Linked DNA regions of Homo sapiens: all the other regions are linked to region 3. Evidence: promoter capture Hi-C in human tissues and cell types (Jung and others, 2019). All regions are on one chromosome and are shown on one strand. Each heading gives the region's core, a stretch centred on a gene start or on the middle of the fragment in contact. The rest is flanking DNA. Distances are from core to core; before and after follow the strand shown.

What was found. Contacts are between HindIII fragments. The study calls those that stand out against the background at their distance.
Region 1: a contact is called between a fragment that was not itself captured here and the fragment with the promoter of HOXD9 in region 3, in 2 of the 25 tissues and cell types used here (heart left ventricle and liver).
Region 2: a contact is called between a fragment that was not itself captured here and the fragment with the promoter of HOXD9 in region 3, in 1 of the 25 tissues and cell types used here (bladder).
Region 4: a fragment that was not itself captured here is called in contact with the fragment with the promoter of HOXD9 in region 3 in 1 of the 25 tissues and cell types used here (IMR-90 fibroblasts).

What each region holds. Positions count from the first base shown.
Region 1 is chr2:176,788,510-176,793,257 of GRCh38, forward strand. No RefSeq gene overlaps it. Among named protein-coding and RNA genes, the nearest start is that of LINC01117, 150 kb to the left of the region's middle. The HindIII fragment of the contact is 7,005 bases long and covers 1-4,748 here.
Region 2 is chr2:176,684,217-176,688,573 of GRCh38, forward strand. No RefSeq gene overlaps it. Among named protein-coding and RNA genes, the nearest start is that of LINC01117, 49 kb to the left of the region's middle. The HindIII fragment of the contact is 4,440 bases long and covers 791-4,357 here.
Region 3 is chr2:176,120,280-176,124,655 of GRCh38, forward strand. It overlaps HOXD9 (homeobox D9), which reads left to right and starts at 2,440. Exons shown (of 2, transcript NM_014213.4): 1 at 2,440-3,306; 2 at 3,655-4,376. The coding sequence starts at 2,490. The coding sequence ends at 3,896. The HindIII fragment of the contact is 11,890 bases long and covers 1-4,376 here.
Region 4 is chr2:176,713,928-176,718,206 of GRCh38, forward strand. No RefSeq gene overlaps it. Among named protein-coding and RNA genes, the nearest start is that of LINC01117, 78 kb to the left of the region's middle. RefSeq lists a silencer at 1,059-1,138. The HindIII fragment of the contact is 4,268 bases long and covers 1-4,031 here.

The sequences.
Region 1 (4,748 bases), core at 2,225-4,724, 670 kb after region 3:
TCCAATTTTCACATAAGCATATTATTATTCCCAAGATTATGATGCTTCTATGTAAAGATTCTTCTTAATTATTTTATCTAATGCAACTATCTTTTTCTCCAGTTCATTATTTTATCTAATGCAAATATCTTTTTCTCCAGTTCAGCTCCTTGTTTGTTTTCTTCATAACACTTCTCACATTTAAAAAAAATATTTTTTTCATTTGTTGGATTTTTTTTTTTTTTGCTGTCTCTCTCACTAGTATGTTGTGTTCTGAGGTTAGAGATTCTGTCTCTTTTGTTTCACCGCCTAGCAGGGTACCTGGACACATAATAGGATCTTAATAAGTGTTAGTTGAGTGAACGAATAAATAAGTGAGTGAATAAATAAAGCTGATACAAAGAAGTTAAGTACCTTGCCCAGGGTCATAGAGTTAGTGACAGAGCTGGGATTCAGTGTCCATGAGCTTATGCACATAGCTGGTCTCCTAAATATATGATAAACCTGTTTAGGATTTGAGATTTCGACATAAAAACCAATATAGAGGATTCAGGGGTTATGCATCCCAGAGAAAATCACTTTTTTCAGGTATAGTGCAGAACTGCATTCTATTTTAGATCCCCAGCTGAAAATATGGTAGGAATCCTGCTAGATATACTGACCCACTGACCATTATTACCTTTTCCTGCTCATCTTTTGATTATCTCCTCCACTTCTCTTTGCTACTTAGGGACACTGGATTTTGTGGATGCTCCTTGGACACACTGGAATGCACCTTGGGCAGCCCGTGGATCATTTTCCCCAGTATGAAGCATGGGAGGAGCTGGAAAATGAACTCATGAGCCAGTTGAGCCAGCACAACAAGCTGGAGCCAGGTAGGCCTGTTCATGATCCGAACTATATTTATTATCTGACTTTGCTTCCAGAAGCTGCATAGCCAGAAGTCAATTTTTCCCATTGATATTGGACCAACTGAAAGAATAGAAAGATTAAATTGATGAGAGGATTGGCTGTCATATAGAGCTTTTCTCTCATCTTTGGCCAAGAAGGGAGAATCAAACATAGTGCTCAAGGCTTCAATTGGAGTAGGCACTCAACTAATATTTATTGCATGAATAAATGAATGACTGACTGGAGAATAAGTGTTTCCCTTCATTAATAGTATATCTTTCCCTTAACTTGTTTAAGTTCCTTCTATGAGAACTTCTAATGAGAAGCTTTGACTCACAATGTTGTAAATATTGCTGTTTCTGTCTTATATAGACCAATTATTACATTAAAATTGTAATATCTTTTACTTCTCTTTCTTGGAGAAAACTTCCCAGGGACAGTGAGACTTTTTTCAGACAAACAGCTGCTTTGGAATTCATAAAACCACTGGTATTTTAAACTCTACAGATGATACCAAAATGTTTTTTTTAAAAACTAAAAAGAATAACAGACGGAATTTATTATCTCATCTTGGGAGTGGGGGCAGTGCAGCATGCACTTAGATCAAGAAATTTCCTGAGTTGTGAGTGGATGTGACTCACTTTTTATACCAAGGCCATGGAATATTAAGGGACCATTTTCCATCTCTATCTTCCTGAAATGGTATCATTTCTACATCATTGATGATAAATGTATTATGTTTTCTGTTAAATATCCTATTATCTGGGGGAAAAAAGAGGCATTGGTGTTACCAGTGGTTAGAAAAGAACCTTTGTATATCTCTAAGTTTTTACATCTTTAATTGGGATTATTCTTTTCTCTATTTCTCTCTCTCTCTCTACCCCCTTCTTTTCTTTCTTTCTTCTTCCTTTCTCTCTTAATATACATCTACTTCTCTTGAGCAATTACATGTCTTTGGTAACTCTCATCAACATAAATTGTCAACATTATTATGAGCCTGTGAGTTTTCATCCTGAAGTGATGCAGTGGAAGTTTCACTGAGGCAATATCTTGGTGATATTCTCCTTCCAGTAGGGCTGGGTTGTTGGGCTAAATGTGCAGTTGAAGAGAGACCCCCACCCCCACCCTCCAGAATCACCAAGAAAGTTCTGTGGTTATCGACAGTGGGAATTGAGCCAGCTACAGTTAACTTTCAACAATAAACCAACTGGGATATCTCTGTGTCCTCATCAGCATGTGCATTCAAATGAGCTCCCATTAGCATTATTATCCCAAATTTCTTTCTTTTGTCCCACCCTGCTGAAGCATCCCTGCCAAGGCCTCCCAGTGAATTCCTGGGAGTCCCCAAGGAGTGTCTCGCCTCCTCACATGCCTGCCAGTCAGGTCCTTAAGCAGCCCCACACCTTCCTCTCCTGGATCCTCCACCCATGCCAGGCTGGAGGGAACCTCACTATAGCACCAGCTGGTGGTGCCTATGGTAAGAACGAAGTGTAACACTGGTGACATCTCCCTAACCCGCTAGTCTTCAAGAAGCCAGAGCTGTCTGGGTGCCTCAAAGAAGTAGGGGAGAATGGTCCTCAACCCTAGTTCTGTGCCATACTTTGATATGCACAAGAGTGGCCATGTTGGGGTCCAGGTGACAATGTCTCTTGAAAATAGCTCCTTCAGACTCTGGCCCTTACCCTTCTACCCACCAGGTGATAACCCAGTCCAGGGGATCAGTTGCAGATGGAGGTTAGATCATGGCTTCAACTCTCCATGGCTATGCCCCCATCTCAAAACTATGCAAAACAACAAACAGAAAGAAGTCACTACCACCACCACCAACACACTCTCCTTGCTCCAAAAACAAGAGCTCTTGTGGATATCAGATTATACAAAGTTGTACGCAGAATAGTCACTACTCTACTCTATGCTGTTCCACAAGCAGCCTAATTCTGACCCTCCACCTGTGCTCAGCAGAGCCTCACGCTACTGTGCTCTACATGGTAGCCCCCACTTTCCATGTTCTGCACACCCTTGCTGGAGACTCCGCCATTCGCTTACTCACTGTGCGTTATAAGCATGATGCAATGAGCATTCCTTGCCTCCTTCACTTGTGCATTCAGCAGTTCTGCTGGTATCAGTTAGCCACAGCTAATGTTGTACATCAAACCACACTCAAACTCCATGGCTTAACAGAATAATCATCTATTCTCCCTCATATATTTGGGTTTGGCTGATCCAGGTTCAGTTCAGCTGGGCTTGATTTCAAGCTACAGATTTGGTCCAGATGTGCTCCTTATGTCTTCTTCACCCTCTTTGGACCAACAGGCTAACCAGGACATTTCTTCTCATGGCAGAAGCAAAAGAAGGGCCAGCCCAACTGCACAAGTACATTTGCAGGCTCTGCTTATATCAAGTCTACTAGTATTCTATCGAGCCAAGCAAGTCACAGGGCCAAACCCCACGTCAATGAAGCAGAGAGGTACTGCCTCCATGGAGGTATAGAGGGGCGGGAATTGGGGATGGTGGACAGGGAGTGAATATTTGCTAAATGATAGATTAGACTATCACAATGCTCAAGCTCTAACTTAAATGGTCAGTAAACAAGTATCAAATGTAGTCAAGAAAATACCAACGGAGCTATTTTTGCCTGAAACAGGCTGCTCTAACAAGTTTATGTGGAAGCATACATCCATGTTTCATATTGTGGGACCATGTGTACAAATGTTTCACATCAAAGCATTACCACTTGCCTTCTTGGTCAGCTCCCAGCTGATTTTGTTTGAAACAGTCACGACTTACTCAGTGAGGGACCTCTGGTTTCCAGAACCAATTCTGCCTTGTCTTTCAAGAAATCATTCCTGCTTTCTCTGCCTTATATTCCATCTGAACTTCCTCTTTCACTATTGCCCCATTTCCATATCTCCTGTGTTCAGACTTCCCTGTTGTCCCAAAATGTTTCTGGAGAAGTCTGTAATAGCTTTCCAAATTCAAAAGAAGGAAAAAAACAGAGGTCCTTTTCTATCACTCTTCTTCCAGCTTAAATTATGTGTGTGTGTTAATATATACATGTATGGGTGTATTTATGTGTTTGTATCTATAAAGAGAATATATGTGTGTGTAATGTAATTATTACTCTTATTACTGGTGATGAAACAGAGATTAAACAAACAAAAACAGTAAAGACATATACAGCACTCACCCCTTCCTGCAGGTGAGGAGAGTTGCAACACTATATTTGGGATCCTTCTTGCTTCTATTGTTCTGCATTCTCTTTGATCTGAAATAGTAACATAGAAATTTTCTTTCACAGGGAAAAAGATATCCTTTTTAGCCACATGTTTAATTCTTCAATGTCAATATTTGCAGAAAACATGAGCACAGCATGATATTGCCTTAGAGTTGTTGATTAATCCCATTCGGAAGCTTCCCTAAGTTTTTTTTTTGATCTTCAGTTCATCATTAGTCTGGTAATGGTGTGTGTGCCTCTGTGAGTGTATTATTGTATTGCCCCAAAGCCTAATAATGATGACAGTGAGGCTTTATTGTGGATTAAGTTTACAGACTTCCTCATTCCCATCCAGTTCCATGGGAGTAATGACTTAACTCAGCTTCCATGGGAAATAGAGACCAGCCATAGATGCCTGAGAGGAGTAATGGTGGCACTGATGTAATCTCCAACCTAGATATGCCAGGGATGTTTGTCACCTGTTTAAGAAGCTAAAATGTCACCATGGAGTCTACAGTTTTTTTGATAACCATTTCATCTACAAAACAAAGGAGGTGTGTGAACACATGAAATGAAAAATAAGAGACACTGTGAGCTAGGGGAGCCCTGGATGCCCTCCAGGAGTCTCTACGTCTTGGGGCACTGAGGTCCTCTCCCAGGGCTG
Region 2 (4,357 bases), core at 1,761-4,260, 560 kb after region 3:
GATCCCTGCACTACTGGGGCTTGGTAGCTACACTCAAAAAGCCATCTATTCATTGTGCCCATGTTTGAGCAAAGTTGCCTGGCCATTTTGAATATATCGTCTTTCAAAAGAAGGCTGTATCAGGAAAGCCATTAAGGTTCTTTCAAACCTACCTCCCAGGTTAAACTGCTGTAGAATCCTTCTGAAGGTTCCCAATGGAACTGCAGAATTGAATTGCTACTATTTCATTATTTTGATATATCAATATTAATTTAACTACAACTCTATCCGTAGATATTTAGGTTGTTGTCAATTTTTAAATACTTTAAATAGTATCACGGTCGATATATTTATGTTCGTATTTTTTCCTATATTCTGGATGATTTCCTTGGAAATGATCTTCAGAAATGAGGTAGATGACTGAGTTGAAAAATGTGAGCATTTTTTAAGGGTCTTGATATATATTGCCAAATTGCTTTTCCATTTACAATGCTTTGTGTGAATATAGTTTCACCAAACTTCTGCCTAAGCTTGAGTCCTTTTCTCCTACAGAAACTCTCCAATTCAAAAATACTTGCTAAAAGATAGCACTAGATTGAATGATGTAAGTACTTGTTAGAGGATACGAAATGAGATATGTGCCCAAACTCCCAAGCATCTTTGGAGGTTGGTAGACAAGGAAGAATTGCCATGTTGGACTCAGAGCCTATAGGTTGGAGTGAAGAATAAATCAAAACCAGGCTGGCTCACAGGAGTCACGAGACCAGTAGCCAACATTTATTGAGGTCTTCCTATAATAACCAGGTCAGTGTTTAGCTCTTTACATGGGTGATTTTATTGAATTTTCCCCAAACCCTCATTTTACAGCTGACAAGGCTTTACTAGCATTTGGAAGTGAACGTCTGAAAGCAGATTTTCCAAGGGGAAGGAATAGTCCAAAATAATCAGCCCAGTTTTCCCGTTTTTCATCCAGATTAACAATCACAGCATCTTCTCCCAAAGCCATGTGGGAGGCGAGGGATCTCCTATGGGGAGAAACGAAGAAGAAAGGGAGGAAGAAGAAAGGCAGTTGAACTGGGCTCTTTCCAGAAGCTTTCAGAGGTGTCGTGCCACCTTTGGTCTGTGACCCTCTGGGCCAGCAGTCCCCTTGAAGCTTTGTGGGATGCAAACAGCCCGTGCTCTGCAGGCTGTCAGGGGCCACGATAGGAGTTCATGCCAATAGAATGGCCTTTCGAGAAGCATTTCTCCATCTCAGAAACACAAACACATATACATTCCTGTCCATATCAGACACACGGGCTTTCCAGTTCACCTTTTCTTTCCTGAACAAGCATATCTATCATGGTCAATGTACAAGAAATGCCCTTTTTGTGCAGTTCCCTTTTGTCCCTCTTTTCATGCCTTAAGCCATCAAAAGAGCACAAAACTCGGTGACATTTTGTAGGATTTACCTCTGAGACTCTGGTGTCACAAACGCAGCTGGGAGTATTGAATGTGTCCTGGTATCAACCAGTGTCCTGAGGGTCTTTCCATTGATTTTACTTCTGAGTTCACAGGAAGACCCAGTGTGCTTACTTTGACTCAGTACTGAGATGTCATTATCCTAGGACAGTTCATATAAAGGGAAGAAAAGGGAAATTCAGGGAAAAAGAGACAGTATAGGCCACATTGAGAAGTACAACTATGAGGCAGAATGAGCTGAACTATCTTACCTGCTGTATTTCAGAATAAAACCTTAGTCCTGCCCCCTTCAAATACTATGCTGTGAAGTCTCCACTGCTCTCGGGATAAAGACCAAGCTCCTCTATGTGGCACACACAGCCTTTCAGCATCCTGCCTCATCCTCCAGTGGCCTCTACTTGCCCTTAGCTAGATAAACTCCAGTCTCCCTGATTCATTTTCAGTGCTAGGATTGTGTAACTCTTGCCTCAAGGACTCTGTACTTGCTGATTCCTCTGCCTTTAGGGACTTTCTCCTTGCTCCTCCCTGGCTTGGCTACCTGACGTGCCGTCTCTTCCAGGAAGCATTCCCTGACCACTCAAGACCTGGCTGCACACCTCTCTTCTGTGCTCCTAGAAATGCCTGCATATTCTGTTCTTATCAAAATGCTTCTCCCACTGATTGAAATTTCCTTTTACATATCTGTTTCCTCTCTAAGCTGCAAGCTGGCTGGAGGGTAGAGGCTATGTCTTATTCAGTATTTTCATATCCAGTTTTTAGAACAGTGCTTGACTCAGAAGTCATTTCATAGATGTTTGTTACTGTGGAAATCCTGAACTTGACGGCTTCTATAGATGACATGCACTTATACTTAAATGCACTAAGGGAATGGAGATAGGTATCCCGTGTTTGTTCCACTGAATTGCAGGCTGCATGAATACCTGTCTGAACCACCATACAGTTCACTCTCTGTTTCTCACATGATTATGCAGTTACAGTGTAGAACTAGAATCATGCCTGTAACACTACTCTATGCTCAGAAGGCATTATTTACATATCCACTCTACATTTATCCGGAAACCACAGCTACTAACTCTACTAACCATTCACACAACCTTGGTAAGTAATTGGTGTAAGTGCATAGATGGCTGATAATGTTCCATCCTCCTTCTATTCTCGATAGCTGAGTTTGGGTTCATAAGCTTAGAGAAAGGCTCCTCAGAGCAAGCTCGTGGTTTGGAGAGTGGAAAAGGCATGCATTTTTATTGTGGCTCTTGTTTCCAAGACTCAGCTAAGACCTGAATAGATAAACAAAAAATATATCATAGAAGCAGCCTATTATTCTCAGGGTTGCTGTGACTGTCCCCAGGGCCTTACAAATTATCAATGAAAAATACAACATACTTTCACAGAATTAAAATGCTTGTTGGGCAAATGGCTCAACTTCAAAGAGTGGCTTTGTTTAGAGCCACCTAGTGACATTTTCTCAGTCCTCCACCCTGGATGGAGAGTGGGAGCCACTACTTACCACCTACCTCCTGCCCCCTTTACCCATAGCTTGTTACATTAAGCTAGGAAAGTTTTATGTGTATAATTTGTGAAGTTCTCTTAAGCAGACAGTGCTATATATATATATATATATATATATGTGTGTGTGTGAAATGCTGTTATTAATAATAAAGGTCGGCTCACCTAAGAATACTGTAGAATTAAAGTAATGAGATTCTATTTTTAGGCAGGCTTGCCAATAACATGCAAGTATGATAAGGCTATGATTTAAAGCTCGCTTGAAGATTCCATTGCTCTAAAGAGTACATTTTCTGGGCTGCCTGCACACAGTAGTCAGCCGCACAGAGCTCTATTAACGCTAATGGTGGCTCCACACGTGAATCCCAGCATGCCCAGCTAAAAATAGGTCTCAGTCTTTCAGACATGGGAGTGTATCCTGCAGACAGCTTGCTTTCACAAAATATATATCAGCCTCTTCAGTCACCTTGCAAAACCCTCATCACTGTCTTTGAAACACTAAAAAAAAGCCTCTAGAATGTGTTTTGAAATTTTTATACATCTGTAATTATGTGAAGATAAAGGATGTGCTTGGGAGGCTCAGTTCTGTTTATATTCAGATGTGAAAAGGTATTTAATAAAGGCCTCGATTCTAAGTGATTCATAACTAGAAAAGAAGTCCCACTCCTCAGGAAAAAATATAATTAGCTCTTCCACCACTAATGTTCAGGTCAATGCTTTGTCAATAACAGTAACTCTTCTTCACCAATTTAGTGCAGCCTATAAAGATCATTATGACTCATAATTACAGATGCAGATTTATGTCAAAATGCATATATAAATCTCCAGTTCTGGATATGGGTCACCTCTTATCAGGCAAAAAGATTAGTATAAGGAGACACTCTCCTTGATCCCTGTGATCATTTTTCTCTTGCCTTTTTGGGGGTAGAATTATAAGGGTTTCCTATCACTGACCCAGATATAGCCCAAGGCACATTACAGAGTCACCTCTGGAGGGAGTGAGTTGCTGGCTGGCTTTGGTGGTGAGAATGGGAGAAGGACGATGTAGCTGTGGAAATATACTTCCTGAGATTATTGCTGTCTGGTTAAATGAAGAGCCCCTTTTCAACACCTGCAGGTCAGCCCCTGTAAATCAGAGGGAAGATGATCATCTGAGCAGAGGGAGATGGGTTTTAAAATGACTGAGACTTCTCCAGGCCGAAGTCTACTGCTCAGTGCTGCACCCAGGGCAGTCGTAGTCCTGATAAGTTATCAAAATTTGTGGAAGCTTGAGTGACTGAATGGGATGTTATGTTGGCCTTGCCAAAGATTTTGTCGTGTTAGGATTTGGGTTTTGATGCATTTCCTGCTAGGAAGTCTGAGGTTTGGAATGTCACCTGGTCTCCAGAGAATCTCCCTGATGGTAGAGGGG
Region 3 (4,376 bases), core at 1,190-3,689:
TATACCCCAAGCCACTTTCTCCTCAAAGCTTCCCATTTGTGTGTTTTCTCCTCTTTGGTTTTGGTTGTGTTGTTTTTAATGCTTTCAGTGGCATCTTGGTGATTTCTGGCTGGCGAGCAATCATCAGGGGCTAGGTTGAAGCTAGTCTTGCCCACCTGGAAGTTGCCGGCCTCCATTACAGGAGCAAGGACAAACAGCAGTGTAGCACTGCAGCGGATCCAATTCTGCCCCCTTTCCCTCAGCCCTACCCCCATCCCAAGCGCAAGACAGCCAGACCCCAGAGAAGCCGAGGATGGGTGAGTTTTCCCATCCCACTTCGCCTTGATCTCCTTGTGGACGGGTTTTATGCTCAGTCATTACCTTTTAGTGGCCCACATGAAATTTTGTTAAAGGAAGAAATGAAAAGATTTTCCCCAGTCAGTCTTTCCTCTATTTAATTACAAAATGCTGGTGGGAACTGCTGCATCTGGGATGCAAGAAAATGCAGAAAGGGTGACTGAAAATTTTGCAAATGAACATGACTTCCCATGAAGTCTAATGTTCCATTCGCTGCCATGGTCCAGGGGACTCCCACCAGCTTCCACCGGCTTCAACAGGATCTCCACTAGAGAGCCCAGACTTATCTAGTCCTGTCGGGGAAAAGGGAGAAGAGGCCTTGCAGGAGAAAGCTAACAGAAAATTCGTTACCTGAGGTCCTGCCTGCAGTTTCAAATAGCTTCCAGCAGTTTTACAAAACACATCCTTTCCATTTCTTCCTTTTAAATGTTTCCCTAAGAACGATCCATTTAGGTGCTATAAGTCCTCAGCCAGGGAGTCTCTGGGACACTGGCATTCAAAATTTTAAACTTCCGCCCCAAAACCAGGAACATTCCAAGACAGAACTCTTTTAGGGGGCCATTTCCTGGGGGTGGGGGAGAGGGCTTGGAATCAATGCTAGATTGAAAACGTTGTAATAGCTTTGCCCCAGACTTAACACCGGTTGGGCAGGAGGAGGGTAATTTTTATTTAGCCGTTTCTCCGATCATGTGGGGAATACCATTAGCTGTTGATAGCGGGCCATGTATCCGAGGAAAGCCTGAGCTACAAGGCAAAGGCATCCCATCTGGAACAAAATCAGAAAGCTATTGGCAAAGGTAATCAATCAGGCCATAAATAGCCATTTACCCGCTTCCTTTTCGGGGCTGGAGGTGGGCCGGGAGCCCTCCAAGGGTGAGCTGGGCAACTTGTAGAGCAAGGAATATGCCCTCCGCTGCCGGCGCCCCGGCCGCTTTTGTCTGGGCTCCCAGCCGGGCTTCCGAGGCTTTGTACCATGGATTTGGGAGTGACAATGGGCATTTCCCTCAGATTCAAGGCTGCTCAACCTCACCTCTGTAGGGGGAAAAAAATCAGAAGGGAGTGTCCCAAGGACCTAGCCATTCGGCCGAATTTTTTAGACATTTTGGGAGTCTCCTCCGAGGCCTTTAAGTGCGAACCGCGCGAAGCGGCCCTGCCCGGGGAGACTCGCTGAGGCAGGGCTGAGGCGGCGGGCGGGAGCAAGCTGCTCTAGCATTTGGGTTCTGCCCTGTGGCGTGTTCTCTTCCAGGGCCTTTCCAGCATCATCGGAGAAGACGAAGCACCCTGGCCGCCACTGTCCGTGCTGCGCCAACTCGCCCGGCCGCCCGCCCTTCCGAGGGCAGGCAGAAGCCCCTCTGTGTCCTCCACCGCCGCGCCCCGGCTCGCCCCTCGGGCCGCGGCGTGTGCCCAGCCTCACGTCGGGGTGTGTGTGGCCGCGCGGGCGTGTGTGAGTGTGGCAGGGGGAGGGGGCCCTCCGATCTGCTCCATCCGTCCGTTTTATTAGGGACACATTAATCTATAATCAAATACACCTCATAAAATTTTTATTGAAAGGCATAATATCATTACAGAGGTCTTCCACCTGTTTTAAACAACACGACAAGCTGTGAGCAAGCGTGTGTGTGGGGATGTGTGGGGAGGGGTGGGTGTGAGTAGGGAGAGAGGCGAGGGGAGAACAGCTCCCCTCGGGCGCTAGGGGCCGCCCCGAGGGCCCGCCTGCCTCGGGCGACACCGGCCTGGCGCCCCCGCGGCCGCTCCGTGTGCCCTGGACTCGCCGCCCGCGGCTCGGAAGCTGGAGAGTCAGCGACGGGGCCCGACTGCGGGACCGAGGGCTGCAAGAAGAAGCGAACAAATAGTCCCCAGCGCCTCCTCTGGATGCGGTCGCGTCTGTGGTCCTGGCAGCCGCTGGGCGGGCCAGGCCAGGTCGGGCCGGGCCGAGCCGGGCACATGGACCTGGGCCTGCGGGCTCTAATTGCGGCGCTTATGTTGATGATTTTTTTTTTAATCACAGCAGCCCCCAGTTTAGCGGACTGATTTACTCCCGGTATTGGTAAATATGATCACGTGGGCCGCGCGACCAATGGTGGAGGCTGCAGCCTGCGAACTAGTCGGTGGCTCGGGCGCCGGCGGGGAGCTGCTCGGCGGCGGACAGTGTAATGTTGGGTGGGAGTGCGGGACGCCTCAAAATGTCTTCCAGTGGCACCCTCAGCAACTACTACGTGGACTCGCTTATAGGCCATGAGGGCGACGAGGTGTTCGCGGCGCGCTTCGGGCCGCCGGGGCCAGGCGCGCAGGGCCGGCCTGCAGGTGTGGCTGATGGCCCGGCCGCCACCGCCGCCGAGTTCGCCTCGTGTAGTTTTGCCCCCAGATCGGCCGTGTTCTCTGCCTCGTGGTCCGCGGTGCCCTCCCAGCCCCCGGCAGCGGCGGCGATGAGCGGCCTCTACCACCCGTACGTTCCCCCGCCGCCCCTGGCCGCCTCTGCCTCCGAGCCCGGCCGCTACGTGCGCTCCTGGATGGAGCCGCTGCCCGGCTTCCCGGGCGGTGCGGGCGGTGGCGGTGGTGGTGGAGGCGGCGGTCCGGGCCGCGGTCCCAGCCCTGGCCCCAGCGGCCCAGCCAACGGGCGCCACTACGGGATTAAGCCTGAAACCCGAGCGGCCCCGGCCCCCGCCACGGCCGCCTCCACCACCTCCTCCTCCTCCACTTCCTTATCCTCCTCCTCCAAACGGACTGAGTGCTCCGTGGCCCGGGAGTCCCAGGGGAGCAGCGGCCCCGAGTTCTCGTGCAACTCGTTCCTGCAGGAGAAGGCGGCAGCGGCGACGGGGGGAACCGGGCCTGGGGCAGGGATCGGGGCCGCGACTGGGACGGGCGGCTCGTCGGAGCCCTCAGCTTGCAGCGACCACCCGATCCCAGGCTGTTCGCTGAAGGAGGAGGAGAAGCAGCATTCGCAGCCGCAGCAGCAGCAACTTGACCCAAGTAAGTGCAAAAGAAATTGCCCCCTGATTTATTGCTGAAACCTGTAAGGCTCGAATGTGCAAAACTGATAGTTTTACTAACCTATAAAAACGTCTAGACGCCTACCCAAGCCTAGGCGAACAACATGCATCCATAAAAAGAGCTTCCCATAACCACCTACCCTGGGCGCTCAGTTAGTACGGTAAACAGAGCGCGAGCATTAAGGCTTTTTATGATAATTCCCCACAAGTTGTGAAAAGCGACCATCCTTGGTGAAATTAATTTAACGACCTCTCTTCCCCACCCTGTGGTCTCTCCCTGCCTCCCCTCCTCTCCTCTCTCCCCGTCTCCAAACCTCCCTCTTTGTAGACAACCCCGCCGCGAACTGGATCCACGCTCGCTCCACCCGGAAAAAGCGCTGTCCCTACACCAAATACCAGACGCTTGAGCTGGAGAAAGAATTCCTCTTCAACATGTACCTCACCCGGGACCGGCGCTACGAGGTGGCCAGGATTCTCAACCTAACAGAGAGACAGGTCAAAATCTGGTTTCAGAACCGTAGGATGAAAATGAAAAAGATGAGCAAGGAGAAATGCCCCAAAGGAGACTGACCCGGCGCGGTGCTGGCGGGAGCGCTCAAGGGCAGCGGATTTGTTGTTGTTGCTGTTTTCCTTTGTGGGTGTTTGGTGCTTGATTTCCAGAAACTCTCCAGCGACTTGGACTTCTTCTTCTTTTTTTTTTTCTTTTTAGATAGAAGTGACTGTGTGGTTGGTCTCTGAGGTATTTGGGGGACTCTGTATTTGCTCGTTTACGTGTTGGAAAAACCAAGTGGCTTTGGGGTTTCGCCCTATCCCACTCCCTCTCTTTCCTGCTCCATTGGTTCCTTAAGAAATGCTATATTTTGTGAGTGCAAGCTGGCTTGGGGAGCCCTCTCTTGTGTAAATGTCCCCCATGTTTCTGAAAAGTGCTGTAGTTTAGTCCCCTCACCCCCAGCACTGCCCAAACAGGGGCCAAGTGCGCCCCAATTCCAAGAATGAAGGCAGAGCGACAACAGTGCGGACACCCCGGCTGCTAGCCCACGGTGAAGCCCG
Region 4 (4,279 bases), core at 648-3,147, 590 kb after region 3:
AAGAGAAAAAAGTGTACCTATTTTTCTGTTTAATGAGCTAAGATAACTGAAGGCTATGGCACTCGATACATCTTGTAGCTTTTATGATATTGTCCAATTTTGCAAGATTCATAATTTACAACTCAGGTAGAGAAACGAGAGGTGGGCATGAATGGAAATTAGAAACCTGTTGGGTAGTACTGTTGAGTGTGGTGGCTTGATGTTAATTAGGATGAGAGGTTGCATGCTTTGCTCCAAGTGTGCACCACATTGGCAGCAAAGACATATTTGCTCCACCTTCATTACCTCTGAAGAAGAAAAGTCTACAAAACCCCCAAAGGTTGCCAAAGTTGGCCTTTGCTACCCTCTCCCCACTGCTTTGTTTTCAAATGCATCCTTCTCTAGGTGGCAGCCCAGATTCCTATCTCCCATCTTTTCCTGGCCCAATCTATTCTCATAATGGCTGTGATGCTGGCTGCGCATCAAAAATTTGTGCTCCTCCTTCCATGTGGCTCTGGAAAGTGGATGCCTAGGAGAGATCGTATTTCCCAGTTCCACGTGCATCTTGGTAGAGCCATGGACTAGTTCTTACCACTAGTCTATGGGCAATAAGGTGTATCCAGCTTTGGCCAAGGTGGTTAAGAAGACTTCTTCACACCCTGTCTTTCCTCTTCTGTACTGTTAACAGAGGACGTAAGGATGCCAGGGGGCCACAGTGTGGAAGGAGTCTAAATCTCTCAGTTTCCACATGGAGGAAAGCTGGCTGCTCACCATGACACCTACCTTGTACTGTTACATGATTAAAAAGTAAAATATTTTGTGATAAACCACTGAAATTGTATGGTTTGTCAGAGCAGTAAGCTTTATCCCAGCCCAGATAATACATTATGGTCCCTATTCATTCTTAGTGGGTGATATAGTTGGATATTTTTCCCCCAAAATCTCATGTTAAAATGTAATCCTCAGTGTTGGAGGTGGGGTATGGTAGGGGGTGATTGGATCATGGGGGTGGATTTCTCATCAGTGGTTTAGTGCCATCCTCTTGGGGCTGTCCTCATGACAGTGGGTGAATCCCCATGAGATCTGGTTGTTTCAGTATGGTACCTCCCCGCTGCACTCTCTCTTGCTCCTGCTTTCACCATGTGACATGCCCGCTTTCGCTTCACCTTTTGCTGTGAGTAAAAGCTCCCTGAGGCCTCCCCAGAAGCTGAGCAGATGTGGGTGTCATGCTCTTACAGAACTATGAGCCAATTAAACATTTTTTCTTTTTAAATTACCCAGCCTCGGGTATTTTTTTTATAGCAATGCAAGAATGACCTAACACGGCTGACTAAACACTAATGCCCAGGATTAAGTCAGAGAATGATGACACCCTCCTACTGGAGGATTTGTGTTTTGCTTGGGGGAACTGCCTACCCTTGTCCTCTGTCAAATGATAATGTTCATGGTTGTACATGCCAACCACATGGTGACTGACCCTGCCATCCATCAACATGATGAGGAGAAAATAGGGCTGGTTAGAATCAGAGTTCCTGGATCTGAGTTCTAATAACTTAATACTTAGTGGGTACTGAGCAGGCTATTTAACTCCCAGAGCCATGGTTTTCTCATCAGGAAAGTGGGGGGGAGTGTTGTCATGTTCAAGACTTTGGAACCTGACAGCCCCCAGTTTGCGATCTACAAAATCTTTACGAATTCCTTACTCTTTGTAAGACTTGGTTTTCTCAACTGCAAAATGCAGATAAGAACACCTTTCTTGTGAGCTTATTGGCTTACTCATTCAATAATTTATTTATGCATTCAACAAGTATTTACTGAGAACTTTCTCTGTGCCAGACAAAATTACAAATACAGGAATACAATTGTGAACAAGACAAAGTTTATGTCCTTATGAAGCTTATAGTGGCCATGGTAGATAATAAACAACAAATAAACCTGTATTCAACTAGTATGGTGAGGTGAAATGAGCTTATGACTGTAAGTCTCTTACACAGTGCCTGGTACATGGTGAAGACTAAGAAGTGGGAGATATTATTAATATTAACTATAAAGATGAAAATGCTGAGTAATTACATTCAAAAGGATCCAGTAGGGCTATTGTGAGGATTAGATGAAATTAGTGTTTATAAGCTATTTATTTTATCTGCTTACTTGGTGATTAATTGAAGCAAATATAAAGAATATGTTAAGTTTCCCCTCACTATTTCAGTGAGGTTGGGATATTTTTGGTTCGCATAAGCCACTTGTTTCTTGAGAGCAGAGGAACCACAGTCAAAATGTAGCCCCCACCCCATGCCAATCTAAGTCGCTTTGAGGTGTTGTGTCTGCCCTCGAGCAGAAATAATTTAACTTTGGCTAAATCAAATGCGGGAGAACAGGACTCTTCGAATGGCTCCTGGATTCTGTCATTGGCACAAAGTGCCTGGACCCTAAATAGAAGCTCCGACTTTACTGGCACCAGTGTCCATCTGCCGGACAGCGCCTCTCGGAACCCTGATGTGCAATAACTGTGCACTACCTCTGAGTAAAAAATAGTTAGCTTCAATGCGTGTATGGGAAGGGGAGTATGTGAGAGCAGGCAGGTAAAAGGATTTGCAAGGTACTATCTCTTTTTGAGATTCTTGCCATGTGATTTTCCTACAAACAGGTGAGCAGAGCACACTGTTAGCTAGTAGATTAGGTTGCATAAGTAGAATGAGCATAAAAGTTATCCATTGTGGACACTTTTGAGTGTGAAAGGGAACAGTATTAATAATTATGTCAGGACAGCAAGAGTAAGTCAGGGCTGCCCTGGGCAGCAAAAAGAGACACATGTCCACCCTGAGCACATGTCCTCAGGAAAAAAGCTCTTATTGATTTCTAACAATCACGAGGAAACAGAAAATATACAAAAGTAGCCACAGAAGTTTTATTAACATCTTAAATGCCCTTACTTTGCATACTATGTACTTAGTATGTAATGCATTGTATAACATGTGCTTCTTTAAACTATAGAGCTGCGGTATACAAACAGGTTTTTGCAACCTGTTCTCTAATTTTAGCAACATGCTGTAAACATTATGTCCAGTCTTTGAATATAACATACAATATTTTAAAATACAAGAAAAAGAGGGAGAGAAAAAAATCATCTTCCTTTAAATGAGTTTGCTTTTACATAGGGATATAACATGGTGAGTCGGAAAAATACAATAAAGCCTTTTGATGCTTCATATTTTCTGAAAACCTAGAGGGGAAGAAAGGGGAGGTCCTAAGAGGGGAGTTAATAGTCATAGTTTACCATTTCTCACCAGTCTAGAGCAGGGATTAGCCCAGAATTTGGCAGTGAAGGGGTATGGGCAAAGTATTCCCAATAGGGTCTTCTGGTAACTGAAGTTGGAAGAAGTGCAGAACTTTTATCAGCAGGCCTCAAAGAGGGGAACAGAAACAGCGGGGAGATGGTAGTGTCCTGTTGCCTTGGGCCATTCCAGAGCAGTGAGTATAGGGCCCTCTCTCTTCTGGAGCACAGTGCATGGTCCTAAATCTTACCAAGAAGGGCCAGGTTGGTTCTCCTGGAAGCAGACTGAGAGACGCTGATTTTCCTTAGGAAGTGGGTTGAGGTGTGCCCTTGGAGCAATACCTGTGAAGGAGCAAGGGCAGCAGGACTGGGCAGAGGGAGGAGTTGAACTGTGATGCAGTTACAAACAAAGGCCTCAGCGGATCCCACGGGGGGCTCTGGACTGGGATGGCCCTTCAGAGTTGTCCTACATTAAGGAAAGAGTCTCAAACCTTTGGATCCCTGTCCTTATCTCCATAGACTAATCTCCATCTACTACTACAGAGAGGAGACATGGCCTTGGATGAGGTAGCTCTCTTCAGCTGAAGGCAATGCTGGGAGAGGAACTCAGCTGACAGCTGGCAGCTACCAACACTCCTAGAGCCTGGGGGAAAGAATACTACAGTCCTGGATGGGGAATCTGGGCTACCTACCATAGCATACCCTACCCAAGTGGTTCCCAAACTTTAGCACAGTGTATCCCAGTCACCTGGTGGGCTTGTTAATATACAGACTCCTGGGCTCCATCCCTAATGTTTCTGATCCATTAAGTCTGGGACAGGGTCAAGCATTTGTATTTCTAACAAGTTCCCAGGAGTGCTGACCAGGGTGTCCCACTTTGAGAACCACTGTAGTACATCAGGCATTTAGGAACTCATGCTCAGGCACAGATAGCTCACCAATCCTTTAAAAATATACAGCTAACAGCCATTCAAGTTTGTACATTTCAAAGCTGAATCAGGCAGCTTTTACTATCTGTAAGATCTC